Linked DNA regions of Homo sapiens: all the other regions are linked to region 5. The links are contacts of gene promoters, found by promoter capture Hi-C in blood cells and fetal thymus (Javierre and others, 2016). All regions are on one chromosome and are shown on one strand. The core of a region is centred on a gene start or on the middle of the fragment in contact, and the rest is flanking DNA. Distances in the headings are between cores, read along the strand shown. Region 1 overlaps ADHFE1 (alcohol dehydrogenase iron containing 1). Region 2 has its middle 4.5 kb from the start of TRY-GTA5-1. Region 3 overlaps ADHFE1 (alcohol dehydrogenase iron containing 1). Region 4 overlaps LOC102724687 (a long non-coding RNA gene). Region 5 holds the start of COPS5 (COP9 signalosome subunit 5).

The links. The method cuts DNA at HindIII sites, captures the fragments that hold promoters and counts their contacts. A CHiCAGO score of 5 or more calls a contact.
Region 1: a contact is called between a fragment that was not itself captured here and the fragment with the promoter of COPS5 in region 5, in 4 of 17 cell types (total CD8 T cells, naive B cells, activated CD4 T cells and 1 more). The highest score is 8.1, in total CD8 T cells.
Region 2: a contact is called between a fragment that was not itself captured here and the fragment with the promoter of COPS5 in region 5, in 3 of 17 cell types (naive CD4 T cells, total B cells and total CD8 T cells). The highest score is 6.5, in naive CD4 T cells.
Region 3: a fragment that was not itself captured here is called in contact with the fragment with the promoter of COPS5 in region 5 in 4 of 17 cell types (naive CD8 T cells, total B cells, endothelial precursors and 1 more); the score reaches 6.5 in naive CD8 T cells.
Region 4: a fragment that was not itself captured here is called in contact with the fragment with the promoter of COPS5 in region 5 in 1 of 17 cell types (non-activated CD4 T cells); the score reaches 5.5 in non-activated CD4 T cells.

The regions. Positions count from the first base shown.
Region 1 is chr8:66,442,248-66,444,947 of GRCh38, forward strand. ADHFE1 (alcohol dehydrogenase iron containing 1) reads left to right here. Exons shown (of 14, transcript NM_144650.3): 3 at 551-597; 4 at 2,120-2,173; 5 at 2,347-2,501. Among named protein-coding and RNA genes, the nearest start is that of ADHFE1, 11 kb to the left of the region's middle. The HindIII fragment of the contact is 3,186 bases long and covers 1-2,700 here.
Region 2 is chr8:66,107,552-66,110,251 of GRCh38, forward strand. No RefSeq gene overlaps it. Among named protein-coding and RNA genes, the nearest start is that of TRY-GTA5-1, 4.5 kb to the right of the region's middle. The HindIII fragment of the contact is 6,679 bases long and covers 1-2,700 here.
Region 3 is chr8:66,461,542-66,464,241 of GRCh38, forward strand. All of the region lies in intron 13 of ADHFE1 (alcohol dehydrogenase iron containing 1), which reads left to right. Among named protein-coding and RNA genes, the nearest start is that of ADHFE1, 30 kb to the left of the region's middle. The HindIII fragment of the contact is 1,417 bases long and covers 611-2,027 here.
Region 4 is chr8:66,414,608-66,417,307 of GRCh38, forward strand. All of the region lies in intron 1 of LOC102724687 (a long non-coding RNA gene), which reads right to left. Among named protein-coding and RNA genes, the nearest start is that of RRS1-DT, 13 kb to the right of the region's middle. The HindIII fragment of the contact is 1,693 bases long and covers 549-2,241 here.
Region 5 is chr8:67,060,821-67,063,554 of GRCh38, forward strand. It overlaps COPS5 (COP9 signalosome subunit 5), which reads right to left and starts at 1,313. Exons shown (of 8, transcript NM_006837.3): 1 at 1,034-1,313. The coding sequence starts at 1,176. RefSeq lists enhancers at 980-1,069, 1,250-1,519. The HindIII fragment of the contact is 5,475 bases long and covers 1-2,734 here.

The DNA of each region.
Region 1 (2,700 bases), core at 126-2,625, 620 kb before region 5:
ATAATGCAAGAAATGTTTTATTATTTTCACAAATTAGGCTCAAGTTAGCATTACATTCTATCTTTTTTTTTTTTTTTTTTTGAGACGGGGTCTCACTCTGTTGTCCAGGCTGGAGTGCAGTGGCGCGATCTCGGCTCACTGCAAGCTCCACCTCCCAGGTTCACACCATTCTCCTGCCTCAGCCTCCCGAGTAGCTCGGACTACAGGCGCTCGCCACCACACCTGGCTAATTTTTTTGTATTTTTAGTAGAGACAGGGTTCTACCATGTTAGCCAGGATGATCTCGATCTCCTGACCTCGTGATCCACCCGCCTCAGCCTCCCAAAGTGCTGGGATTACAGGTGTGAGCCACTGTGCTTGGCCGCATTACATTCTATCTTAAAATACAGGTATTGATTTTAATTTGATGTGCAACAGTGAAACCTGGAAAAAATATATTTTTGGTAAGACTTCAAAGGAAATACTTATGTTCACTGCTGGATTTTACTATCAAATAACATTTATGCTTTTTTTTAAAGACCCACTTTGATGCTAACTTTTACATTTCTAGCCCCTGGACTTTCACCTTCTGGGAAAACAACAGATTATGCCTTTGAGGTATATTCACTCAATCCATTATTTCTTTTATGAATGACTAGAAAAAAATAAAACTAGAATATTTTGCTAATGAATTATTATTTTATTTTAAATCTGTTATTAATTCACATTCCATAATCTCTATTTGATCAGACCATATTTAGCAAAGTACCTGGTTGGTATAATGGAATATAAACCTTCTGAGATCATGGCTAATGTCTAGAGTGCTGTCTTTGTAGAGTCACTAAAATAGGATAAATTCCCAATTCTACAAATTCTCCAGTACATATATGTTATGTGTTAAATCTTTAGTTTTTTAATTATAACAATCCCAAAAGAGGTCAAAGTAAAGTAACAATTCTGGTGTATTTTTATCACACTGTAATTACATAATTACTTATAATTATTTGTTTAAGTCCCTGTCTCCTCCTAGTCCAGGAATTTTTTTTTTTTTTTTTTTTTTTTTTTTTTTTGGAGACAGCCTCACTCTGTCACCCAGACTGGAGTGCAGTGGTGTGATCTCAGCTCACTACAACCTCCGCCTCCTGAGTTCAAGCGATTCTCCTGCCTCAGCCTTCTGAGTAGCTGGGATTACAGGTGCACACCACCACACCCAGCTAATTTTTGTATTTTTAGTAGAGACAGGGTTTTGCCATGTTGGCCAGGCTGGTCTCGAACTCCTGACCTCAGGTGATCTGACCACCTCGGCCTCCCAAAGTGCCAGGATTACAGGCATAAGCCACCGCGCCTGCCTTCAGGAATGACTAATTAAAATGTCACCGGGGGCCTGACAGTTAACCAAGAGATGACCAGGCTGGGTGATGCCATGGTGAGCTCACTGAAGGCACAGGCCCCATCTAAGGTGTGACTCCACTCAACCTTATAAGATCACTGCCATATGGGAATGCATTCCCAGTTTGCTGGATTATTCAAGAGAAAGTGAAATTCAGATGGTCTTATTAAATTTTTTATCCTGATTTTTAAGCATTATTAGTCAATTCAAAAAAAAAAAGAAATTTAAACATAACACAGATCAAATAAAATATATTTCAGGCGAAACATGACCCATCATCCATCAGTGTAAAAGCCTTTCTCTCACCCGTAAACTTTATGAGGCCCTGTGTCTCTTATTCATAGTTGAGTTACCAGAGCCTACACAGTGCCTCGAACATAGAAGACAGTAGCATTGACTGGGTGGCAGGTATGCAAGGGTGGGTGGATGAATGGAAAGTAAGACATTTGAGAGTTATTTTACAGGTGGAGTTGGAAGAAGGTAGGCATTTGAAGCTAAGGGAACAGTTGAGAGTTTATGATGTGTTTGGGAAAAGACAAGTCATTCAAATGACAGGAGCTGAAGTTTGCTTAAGGAAGTGTGGTGCGTCCACACTTCTTTAAGTGAGACCAGGTGGGAGATGACCTGGAAGACCATGCTAAGGAGTGTATACTTTATGCTCTAGGCAACAAGAAACCATTTCAGGTTTTTAGAAATGGACTGGCCAACTCTCAAATACTCCCTACACCTAAACCTTTTTATTTTTTTCAGATGGCTGTTTCAAATATTAGATATGGAGCAGCAGTTACAAAGGAAGTAGGAATGGCAAGTATTCGAGATGTCTACGGTCTCCTACTGTAAATGTTACATATCTCACAAGACCATGCTAAATGACAACAATCACATCCTCTATTTTTAAAAATGTACAACGTGAGTTTGCCAGAAGAGTCTATTGCAGTTCTAGTGGAGTTGAACCTAACTTATAGGTTTTCTTGTAGGACCTAAAAAACATGGGTGCTAAAAATGTGTGCTTGATGACAGACAAGAACCTCTCCAAGCTCCCTCCTGTGCAAGTAGCTATGGATTCCCTAGTGAAGAATGGCATCCCCTTTACGGTTTATGATAATGTGAGAGTGGAACCAACGGATTCAAGGTATTCTTGTATTGTTGTTATTGTTTCTTTACTTTAAGCAGAAGCTAACTGTTGATTAAAACTTGCCCCCAACCAGGCGTGGTGGCTCACGCCTGTAATCCCAGCACTTTGGGAGGCTGAGGCAGGCAGATTGCTTGAGGTCAGGAGTTCGAGACCAGTATGGCCAACATGGTGAAACACTGTCTCTACTAAAAATACA
Region 2 (2,700 bases), core at 111-2,610, 950 kb before region 5:
CCTGATCTGTAGAATGGTTTCCTTGACTGAAAGGAAAAACTTGAAAGCTCTTTAGTGCACATATGTCTAAGGAATAATTTTTCAAATAAACAATGGCTTTTTTTTTTCACATTTCACGGAGTCTTGACACACCTCCTTGGAGCACTGCTGTTAACAAATTTAAGGGATTTCACCTTTGGATTTAGAGGTGAGAAGAGAATAACCTTTAATAGATGAAACGCTTTTCTACTCCCAGAATGTCCATTTTCTGACCGTACTGGCATCAGAACCTGCCTTTCAACCTCCTTCCTCCCAGAGTAGCAGCTGCCAGCCCAATATCCCTAACCCAAGTGTCCATCTGAGGACAGAGAGACCAAGCAGTGCTACAGAAAGCCCTGGCTGTGATTCAGGAGGCCTAAGATCTCATATGCCACTTCTCCCCTCTGTTACCTTGGATAAGTCATTTCACATATTTGGGCCTCAGTTTCTTCATTCTTAAGCAATTTTTATTACAGAATATCTATAATTAGATGACAATTATGGGACACTCTGACCCATACGTGTTATGTAAAATAACTTACATATGGTTAAACAAAAATGTAATGATGTCAAAAAATGCAGAAACAAAAGCAAATTTCTTCACCATCCCCATATAGTTTGTTAGGGCTATCATAACAAAATATCACAGACTGGGTGGCTTTTAAAAAGATAAATTTGTTTTCTCACACTTCTAGAGGCTAGAAGTCTAAGCTCAAGGTATTGGCAGGTTTGGTTTCTTCTGAGACCTCTCTCCGTGGCTTGTAGATGGCCGTCTTCTCCCTGCGTCTTCCTGTAGCCTTCTCTCTATGCATGCATGTGCCTGCTGTCTCTGTATTCTGTTCTCCTTATAAGGACACCAGTTGTATTGGATCAGGGTGCACCCTAATGACCTCATTTTTGCTTAATTACCTCTTTAAAGGCCTTATCTCCAAATACAGTCACATTCTGAAGTACTAGGGGTTAGGTCTTCAACAAATAAATTGGGGTGGGGAGGGAAGACAGAACACAATTCAGCCCAACAACAAGCATGCCATCAATTTCTCAAAATTGTGCCATATTTCAGTTTGCTTTATATTTGAACCACGTATTTTTTATAAAGTTTTTTTTTGTTTTTTTGTTTTTTTTAGAAATCCCTGAGTATCTTCGTTCTGTCTTTTTGAGAAAAGTGACATGTGCCTTTATCATATCTCTAAGGTCTCCCAGATCCTTAATCACACTACTATTGTAAAAGAATCCGCTTCTTTTTGAAAAATAAACTTCCCAGAGCCCTCTAACTTTTTTTTCCTCCCCTTAATTTGTCCTGATTGCTTTCTTTGCCAGCTGCATCACTGTCAACCTGAGATTTTCTTTTCATTGAGTCCCTGGGTTGGTTTCCTTTTTTCTTAAATCCTGTGTACTCCTCCTTCTTGGATTCTTACTTTGCTTTGCTGAAGTACATCCATGGCATACACAGAGACATGCTGCTAGACTGCCTTTCAAGAAAGAACTCACTGCCCAGCTGCAAGGAGGATGGTTAACTAGTAGCCATCAGGTGTTAACTCCTCTAGCCAAGGTTCTAAGCCTCTGGCCAATGACTGAGCAAGGTGGTGATGCTAGGGCCCCACCATTTCTGCCCAACTTGAGACTCCTCCAAAAGGAAATCTTTGCTCTGGAGCCACCAAGAGGGTTGGCAGAAACTTTGTCGGGTCTGCATCACTGTCTAATGACTACCCCTACCCAATCCTGTGTCCTCCCCTTTTCCATTCACAGATGTTACTCCCCTGTAAAATGTTGTGCTCTAATTCTGCATGAGCTTCAGCTTACTGGAGAACCCATCCAGTACAACATCCTCAAATAATGTTTACTTACTTTTTATTTGTTTCAGAGAGGAATCATAGATTTAAACTTTATGAGACCTTGCAACTATGAACTATTAGTCCTCATATGTGATTGCTACTTTGATTGGCATACAATTCTAGGCTTAAAATTATTTCTTTGCAGAGCTTTGAAGGCCATGCTCAACTGTCTTCTAGCATCCAGTAATGATGATGAGAAGTCTGATCATAATCCAATTCTTATTCCTTTGTAGCTAGCCTAGTTCTTGTTTAGATTTTGCTTTGTTTTCCTCCATCTCTGAAAGTTACAGGGTTTCATCTTTATCCTCAATGCTTTTGAATGTCACTAGGCTGTGTCCAGGCATGGTTATTTTTCATTCATCCTAACTTGCATGATCCTTTCCATCTGATGACCAATGTCTTTCTTTTATTCTTACCCCTGCATTGTCTCTGTTTTCTCTTTCTGGAGCTCATATTAGATACTCTTTATGTCTTCAGGATCTATCTTTTCTTTTTTTTTTCTTTTCTATCTTTTTTTTGGTGTGTGTGTGTGTGTGTGTGTGTGTGTGTGTGTGTGTGTATAACCAGATCTCACTCTGTCCCAGGAGCTGGAGTGCAATGGTGCAATCAATCATAGCCCGCAGCAGCTTTGAACTCCTGGGCTCAAGAGATCCTTCTGCCTCAGCCTCCCAAGTAGCTGGGACTACAGGTAAACACCACCATGTCTAGCTAATTTTCGTATCTTTTGTAGAGATGGGGGTCTTGCTTTGTTGCCCAGGCTGGTCCCAAACTCTTAGCTTCAAGCAATCCTCCCGCCCTGGCCTCCCAAAGTACTGGAATGACAGGGGTGAGCCACTGTACCCAGTGT
Region 3 (2,700 bases), core at 69-2,568, 600 kb before region 5:
TAGACTCATGTGTCCACAGGAGCCAGGTAGAGAATAGCAGTGAACAATGTCATGTAAGGCCTTAGGGAGTGGTGGGGACTTTGGTAAGCCAGAAAGCACGTGACCCATCTAACTGGGTGAGCAGCTCAGCTGCAGTTTATCATCACCAAGCAGAAGATCAGGTCCCAGTGTTGGTAGAACTACCAACTCTCAAGAAAAATCAGCAATCCGGATGTTTGTGTTGAATTCCCTGGTTTCCAATGCACAAATGAAATGTAGTCCGTGAACCACCAGTTTCCCTGATTTGGATTCAGGCTCAGTGAATTCAATTGCATCTACAAATAGAAATGAACAAGAAACAAAGGAGTCTCAAAGTATAGGAGAGACCCTGGGCTAACCCACAAACCCTTAATTCTAACCCATACGTCCAAGGGACCAAATCACTAAAAAAATCACACTCTCTAACGCCCTCACAGTTATTTTATCCAAGCCTACCAGCCTGTAAGTCCTGTGAGGGCAGGAATCTGTCTGCTTGGCTCATCCATTTTCCATTGCACCTAGCACAGGCTAGTAAACATGTTAAACGAACACATACCTCCATTCCTCTCCTCCTAAGTCCTCTGTCTAGGTAAGCTTTAATGGCTGACTGAGGATAACTTTTTGAAAAGTTTCCTTAGACTGACTAGGACTCAACCAAAGACAGGGGAGCCATGAAAGCTCAGGGACACCGTAGACTGAGTGGTCATAGTGATTTTTTCCGGAGGGAGGGACAGGGCTGGAGTGCAGTGGCATAATCACAGCTCACCACAGCCTTGACCTCCCAGGCTCAAGTGATCCTCTGTCCTCAGCCTCCCGAGTAGCCAGCACTATAGGTGTGTGCCACCATACCAGGCTAATTTTTTTAACTTTTTTGTACACAATAGGTCTCACTGTGTTACCCAGGCTGGTCTTGAATTCCTGAGCTCAAGCAATCCTCCTGCCTTGGCTTCCCAAAGTCCTAGGGTTATAGATATGAGCCACAGTGCCTGGCATTCACTGCAATTTTAATGTAGCTTCTGGCTTTATGGCATGGTCCCAGTGACACTGTCCACCCTGCAAGGGGCCTTCCAAAAGGTTCTGTTTGTTTAGCCCAGGAAAGTGTTCAGGAAAATGTGTGGGTCCATCTCTAAGAATGGTATCCATGATTTTCAGATGAAACTGTCTGATACCCTTGGCGATTTGATTGCTGACCATCAGTACACACTGACAGGTGTTTACTCTTCTAATTCTACTGTGGTCAGACTGTCACTTTCTTTTGTTTGTTTTGTTTTTTGTTTTTGAGACAGAGTTTCACTCTCATTGCCCAGGCTGGAGGGCAGTGGTGCAATCTTGGCTCACTGCAACCTCTGCCTGCCGGGTTCAAGTGATTCTCCTGCCTCAGCCTCCCGAGTAGCTGGTATTACAGGCACACACCACCATGCCCAGCTAATTTTTGTATTTTTACTAGAGACGAGGTTTCACCATGTTGGCCAGGCTGGTCTCAAACTCCTGACCTCAGGTGATCCGCCCACCTCAGCCTCCCAAAGTGCTGGGATTACAGGCGTGAGCCACCACAACTGGCCCAGACTGTCACTTTCAAAAGCTATTCCACGTAGCAGCAGATCCAGCTTAACATTTGAGACCACTAAAATAGCACTAAATTAACACTAAAATAGCAACTTAATTAGGTATCATTCTGAATGCCTCAGTGCACATGCAATACTGGGAAATCACAGATAGCAAAATCTTAATTGGACAAAACCAATTTCTTAGTTTTACAAAAATGGGAGGTAAATGGAATCTTTTGGATATAAGTTCTGTCTTAAAGTAGGAAGCCAGATTTTCCTCAGGCTGTATTCATAAAACACCCCAAGGCATCTGCTGCCTTTTTTCCTCTGATCATGTTTTCATGATTCAGAGAAATATAGTTAATTTTAATTAAACTAGCCCTAGGTTCATTTGGAGTCTACGTGATTGAGATATGTGTATATTCACAGATCGATAGGACTTTGGTAGGAATCTTAGAAATAAGCTTGTCCATTTTGCAGATGAATAACTACTATGGAATTTTGTTTGTTTGTTTGATGGCAGTGACTGTTTTACAGGAATGCTGTGGCCACTTCAGAGTTTTACACATGCAATAGACTAATCTTCGCTTATTAGTATCTCCAGGATTTAAGGTAGTGAGAAGAATATACTGGCTCCTCCAAAGAACGTCACCAGAAAGGTTATTCAATGTAGTTGACATTTGATGAAGGTTCTTTTCTGTTCAGCAGTGAAGGATTGGTTTTCTCTGGAAGAAACAACCAGGCCAGTATTCTTGACCAAACACAGCCCATACTGGTGGCAGCTAATAGCAGCCCTGTGTACAGAGGCTTTCAACTGCCATAGCCAGGCTGCAAGGGGAGCAGGCAAGAATATATTAATCTTCCAAGCTGGATTTCTAAAACCCCTGGAAAGAAACATTTACATTTCAAATCAAAACATTTCATTACTGAGGAGCGCTGTCTACCCAAATGAGCACTTCCACTCCCTGGTAGACAGGCCAGCTGAAATGTTGTTATTTCATGAACGTGCTAAAAGTAGATGTCTGAATTTATTTCGTTCCCATGTTAATGAGTTGTCCTTCACTCTTACATGCCTATAAATAATAGCACATCATTGCTTAACATATCTTAATTCTGAGAGAGTTTAGCTTTTTTA
Region 4 (2,700 bases), core at 145-2,644, 650 kb before region 5:
TTCACATGTACCATCCCCATTAACATCTCTTTTCTACTCTCCTCTCTTCCTCAAATTGGAGAGTGGAAAACTCCAGACTAAGAGGCTGGCTCTTCGATATAAACGACTCAGAACCCCAACTGATAGCCTTTTCAATGATGCTGTGTGGGAAACAAGTTAGCATTATTACCTAACAGAAAGTTTACAGTTTGCATCACTTTTCTGACAATGCCTGGAATTAGCAAATTAATTAGACTCAGAATTAGAATCCATTCTTGTTTTGTTACAAGCATAATTATATCCCACTATCAGGAAAGATTCTTCTAGGCCAACCTTCAACATTCATGATTAAAGTCTAAGTCACTCTCTAATGAAGGATGCCTTGCACAATTAGAGTAAACTGGGGGAAAGTGCATATGATTCTTCCCTAAAGCATCCATTTCTAGAGATGCCAATCCTTCCCACTGATCCTTTAGCACTTTATTCTAAAGTACTCTTCCCCTAGGTTTTCTGCTATTTTCCTATCTTCGCACTAAGAGGTCTGTGACATTATCAGCTATTGCAAAGGAAGCTTTGGGCAAAGTAAATGGAGAAGTCTTTTTATCTTTAAAAGGTTATTTGGCTAAGCAGTTTTAATATTTTTCCTAAATAAGAATGTAGTATATTTTATGGGATATGTAGTTTACTAATGTATTTTATTCAAGTCATCTACAACCACCTTTACCTCTTTTAAGTTCCTTCTGAAATACTTCAACAATAATTCACATTCTATTTTAGGTATTTGTCTTTATATGGACTTCCATGGAGTTAAGCTAATGGTCTTTTGACTATTTTCGAATATCACAATCTGGTTGGGATCATTTGCATATGAGATATTTTTAGAGAATAGTTTGAACCATAAATTTTAAAACTCCAGTTCTATTAAGCTGAGATTTTGATAACTCAAAATGAAGGAAATGTGAATGCCTGAAGACACCTACAAAATAGTAAAATAGCAGATAAACCAATCTGCTATTTAAAGGATGTAACAACCACATTCAATACCAAGTTCAATACTAGTAATAAAAGCTAACATGTAACAAATACTTTCTATGTGCCAGACATGGTGCATACATTATCATATTTAATCCTCACAATAGGATGAAGAAGATATTGCAATTTTTCTTCAGTTTACAAATGAGAAAAATGACCAATATGTTGGTCAGTGTAGTAGTTTGCTAGGGCTGCCCTAACAAAGTAACACAAACTGAGTGGCTTAAACAATAGAAATTAGGCCAGGCATGGTGGCTCACGCCTGTAATCCCACACTTCAGGAGGCTGAGGCGGGCAGATGACTTGAGGTCAGGAGTTCGAGGCCAGCCTGACCAACATGATGAAACCCCATCTCTACTAAAAATACAAAAATTAGCTGCGCATGGTGGCACGCGCCTGTAATCCCAGTTATTCGGGAGGCTGAGGCAGGAGAATCACTTGAACTCAGGAGGCGAAGGTTGCAGTAAGCCAAAATTGCACCATTGCACTCCAGCCTGGGTGACAGAATAAGACTCAGTCTCAAAAAAAGGAAGGAAGGAAGGAAAGAAGGAAGGAAGGAAGGAAGGAAGGAAGGAAGGAAGGAAGGAAGGAAGGAAGGAAGGAAAGGAACTTTCTCATATTCTAGAGTCTAGAAGTCCAAAATCAAACTGTCAGCAGGGTTTGTTCCTTATAAGGACCATGAAGGAAGGATTTGCTCCAGGCCTCATTCCTTGACTTATAGATGGTTGTTTGTCTTCTCTATGTCTTCACATCATCTTCCTTCTTAAGTGTCCACGTTCAAAGTTCCTCTTCTTTTTTTTTTTATTTTGTTTGGGTTTTAAAAATTATTATTATTATTATTATTATTATTATTATTATTTTAGAGATGGGGTCTTGCTCTGTTGCCCAGGCTGGAGTGCAATGGCAAATGTCAAAAATGTTGCAAGAAATAGGACAAACATAATTTTGAATTCATAGTTGAGCTTTCATGAAAGGAAAAGATAGTTTCAGAGACCAAAAGCAAAGAAAGAACTAGAAACTAGAGAGAATGTTACAGCAGCCCTGGGAGGGTGGAAAGGATGGGTGCTGATCTCCAACACCTAGCGATTTGGATTTAACTGCTCATGGGAAAAGACCTCGGGCCACATGAGGTGGGAAATTAGAAACAACATCCCCAAATAGGCCTAGATGAAAGGGTAAACTAAAAAAAGTAAAAATCCAACCAGTAATGGAAGTAAATTATAATAAAGAAGCTTGAATGGCATAACCTGGATCGGGTGTGAAAAAAATATTTTACCTGCGCTTGAAATGATGGATACCCCATTTACCCTGATGTGATTACTACGCATTGCATGCCTGTATCAAAATATCTCACATAACCCATAAAAACTAATTTTGAAAATATTTTAACTCAATTTTGCTATGGGCTCCTTCTTATGTGGGTTTGGGGTTTAGATTTACATAACCCAAATGATCTAGGAGCCCCTAAACCAAGTTATTAATTTTTAAAAAAGGTTTCCAGCTAACAATGAAGCAAATTCAAAACTTCTCTGAGAGGACATGCCCTTAATCCAGATTACACAGGATTCCCACAGATAAAGCCTTGCCAAAAACAAGTGCATAACTCAAAATTACCAAACACATGGAAAATCAATCAACATACACAACAAAAGCAGTATTAGGCCTTCGGAGTGTTTAGATAATAGAGCT
Region 5 (2,734 bases), core at 63-2,562:
TAATTTGTAACAAAAGGATGGATATACTGTACTGGGTTGTCATGAAAATTAAATGACGTGGAAATCTCTAGCTAGGTGCTTCCGCAGTTCACCATTGTGGAATCTGAATACTGAGAGACAAGGCTAGCCTTGTAAAAAAAACTGTGAGGCAGTAGAAGTATGTCCTCTTGTTGACCACAGCTTTCCTTTCTATCTAACCATTAGCTTTCGTGCTCTTTTTACTCTCAAACATAACCCGTAATAATTATCTTTTCCTGATAGCAGGAAATCTCTCAGGAGATGCTCTCAGGAAAAGATAAATATTATGGGTAAAGATCCCTCGACTTGTCACCACTCCCAGGGAAAAATGGATATTGTTGAAGGGCAAAAGGTCTTAAGCTCTATTTTTATAATTTCTGGCTTATGGGAACTGGTGGAGTAACATTTTAGAGACCAGGTAGTAGAGCCTCCGTGTGCCTCCGAAATAATTACCAGCAATCAAAAAACTATTATAGGCCCAGGCCTCACGCCTGTAATCCCAGCACTTTGGAAGGCGAAGGCGGGAGGATCGCTTGAAGGCAGAAGCTCGAGATCAGCCTGAGCAACACAGCGAGGACCCATTTCTATTAAAAAAAAAAGAAAAGAAAATAGCTCATAGCTATTTTTGAGACCTTGGGCTGCTGACTCGATTTCTGAAAACAGCTGCAATCCCCAGTTTGGGATTAGTTGAAGACCCAAACAAGGTGCATGTCGACACTGGGCTCAAGGTAGGGTGTGTGGCATATATGACAATACGGATGTTCAGAAGTGACAACTTAAATCACCGCTTGTTGTTCTCCCCTTACATCACCCGGGGGCAAATGGATTAAAGCGACAGAAAGGGGAGTGAAAGCCCCAGCGGAGGGCTTAGGCTCTACTTGCAGATCCAAGACGCATATTCTGTCCCCCTCCCAGTCGGTGAAAGCTCTTCACCCCTTTCACCTCCCTCTCCCTCTGGGTCTCTTAAACTCCGCCACCCTTTCCCTCCCCTGCGTCTCGCCAGGGACCTCCTCACTCCTTAGTCCAGGGCTTCGCCGCCAGGATTTCTTGCTGCTGTTTCTTGTCGTATTTGTAGATTTCATCGATACTCTGAGCTTCCTGCATGTTGTTGGCCAGTTCCCAGGTTTTCTGGGCCATACCGCTCCCGGACGCCGCCATCGCCGAGGAAGCGGAGAAGTTGTCGTCTCTACAACCAAGACGCAACTTTACCTCGCTAGGTTTCCGGGTGTGGGCCTTGACCCTCCGCACCACGGGAACAAACTCTTACCTAGACTCTTGGGGCAGCCATGACACCTAGAACCGGAGGTGAAGTTGGTAGAGACCATTCAGGGAAGACAGGGACCTTTCCGGGACATGACGATATAAACAGCAGTTACAGTAATAGCGAGAGACGAATCTTCTTGTTGCTTAAATGAGAACATCTTGTCTCGGAAAATTATATGTGTGAAATAGAACAAACAAAGTTATAGGGTATGGGAGTGGTATAGTCTTCCGCACCGGAAGAAGGGCATGTAACGTTATTCCAGAAACTGGTATTTGCCTTCTCTGCTTCTAATGCGCAGGCTCGGCCTCCGCCATATTAAAGGTAGCTGGAGCCTTAAGAGCGGGATGTGGAGGGCGGAAAGTGTTTTTGTGTGGGTATAGGTACCTTAAATGAGATAAGTTTGTTGAAAGACTAAAAGGTAAGGCTGTCTGTTGTACAACTGAGCTAAAAGTCGTTCTGGAAGCTGGTTGAGAGGAAGATAAACATGGCATTCCCGTTTACTTCAAGATGACTCACTGTACATGCGTAAAAGCTAACGGGCTCGTGGTGGCTTGGCACTTCACTTGCAGATGGGCTTTTTCTATCGATGCGAGGAGGCAGTGGGTACTCCTTGATTGCTTTTTTGCGCTTTGGTAAAAGTTAACATCTACGTATATATAATGTGCCATTACTGATCTGAAAATGTCCAGTACTCAGTTCTCGTAACAGGTTACAGTTAAATCTTTGGCACTCCTGTGAACCGCATTTGTTCCCAAAGCGTAATTAATCTGGGTAACTGGTTTGTTTTCTTCCTACAGTTAATACAATGTTTAATTTTTTTATTAGTTCACGTGTTTTAGGTTTTCTTTTTTCTCCATCTCATTCTTCCATCCGTGCAAGATTTTAAGTTTCAAGACACAGGGAGCAGGTCTGCGTTCCTTGTTTTATCTCCTAGCACCTAGCATAGGTGTTCAAGATTTTTTTTTCTTTTATTTCCTGAAAAGATAGCATGACAGGCCAGGCGCGGTGGCTCACGCCTGTAATCCCAGCACTTTGGGCAGCCGAGGCGGGCTGATCACTTGAGGTCGGGAGTTCAAGACCAGCCTGGCCAACATGGTGAAACCCCGTCTCTACTAAAAAAATACAAAAAAAAATTAGCCGGGCGTGATGATGTGCGCCTGTAGTCCCGGCTACTCATGAGGCTGAGGCAGGAGAATCGTTTGAACCCAGGAGGCGGAAGTTGCAGTGATCCGAGATTGCGCCACTCCAGCCTGTTAGACAGAGCCAGTCTCAAAAAAAAAAAAAAAAAAAAAAAGAAAGAAAGAAAGAAAAAAGAAGAAAAAAGAAAAGATAGCACCACAGCTGTTAACAACCTGGCCCCTATGCACCTCTTCCAGCTTCATCTCTTTTTAGTCCCCCCTTGAAACTTTTCATTCTAGCAATGCAGATATCTTTACTTTGGCTTTGCATATG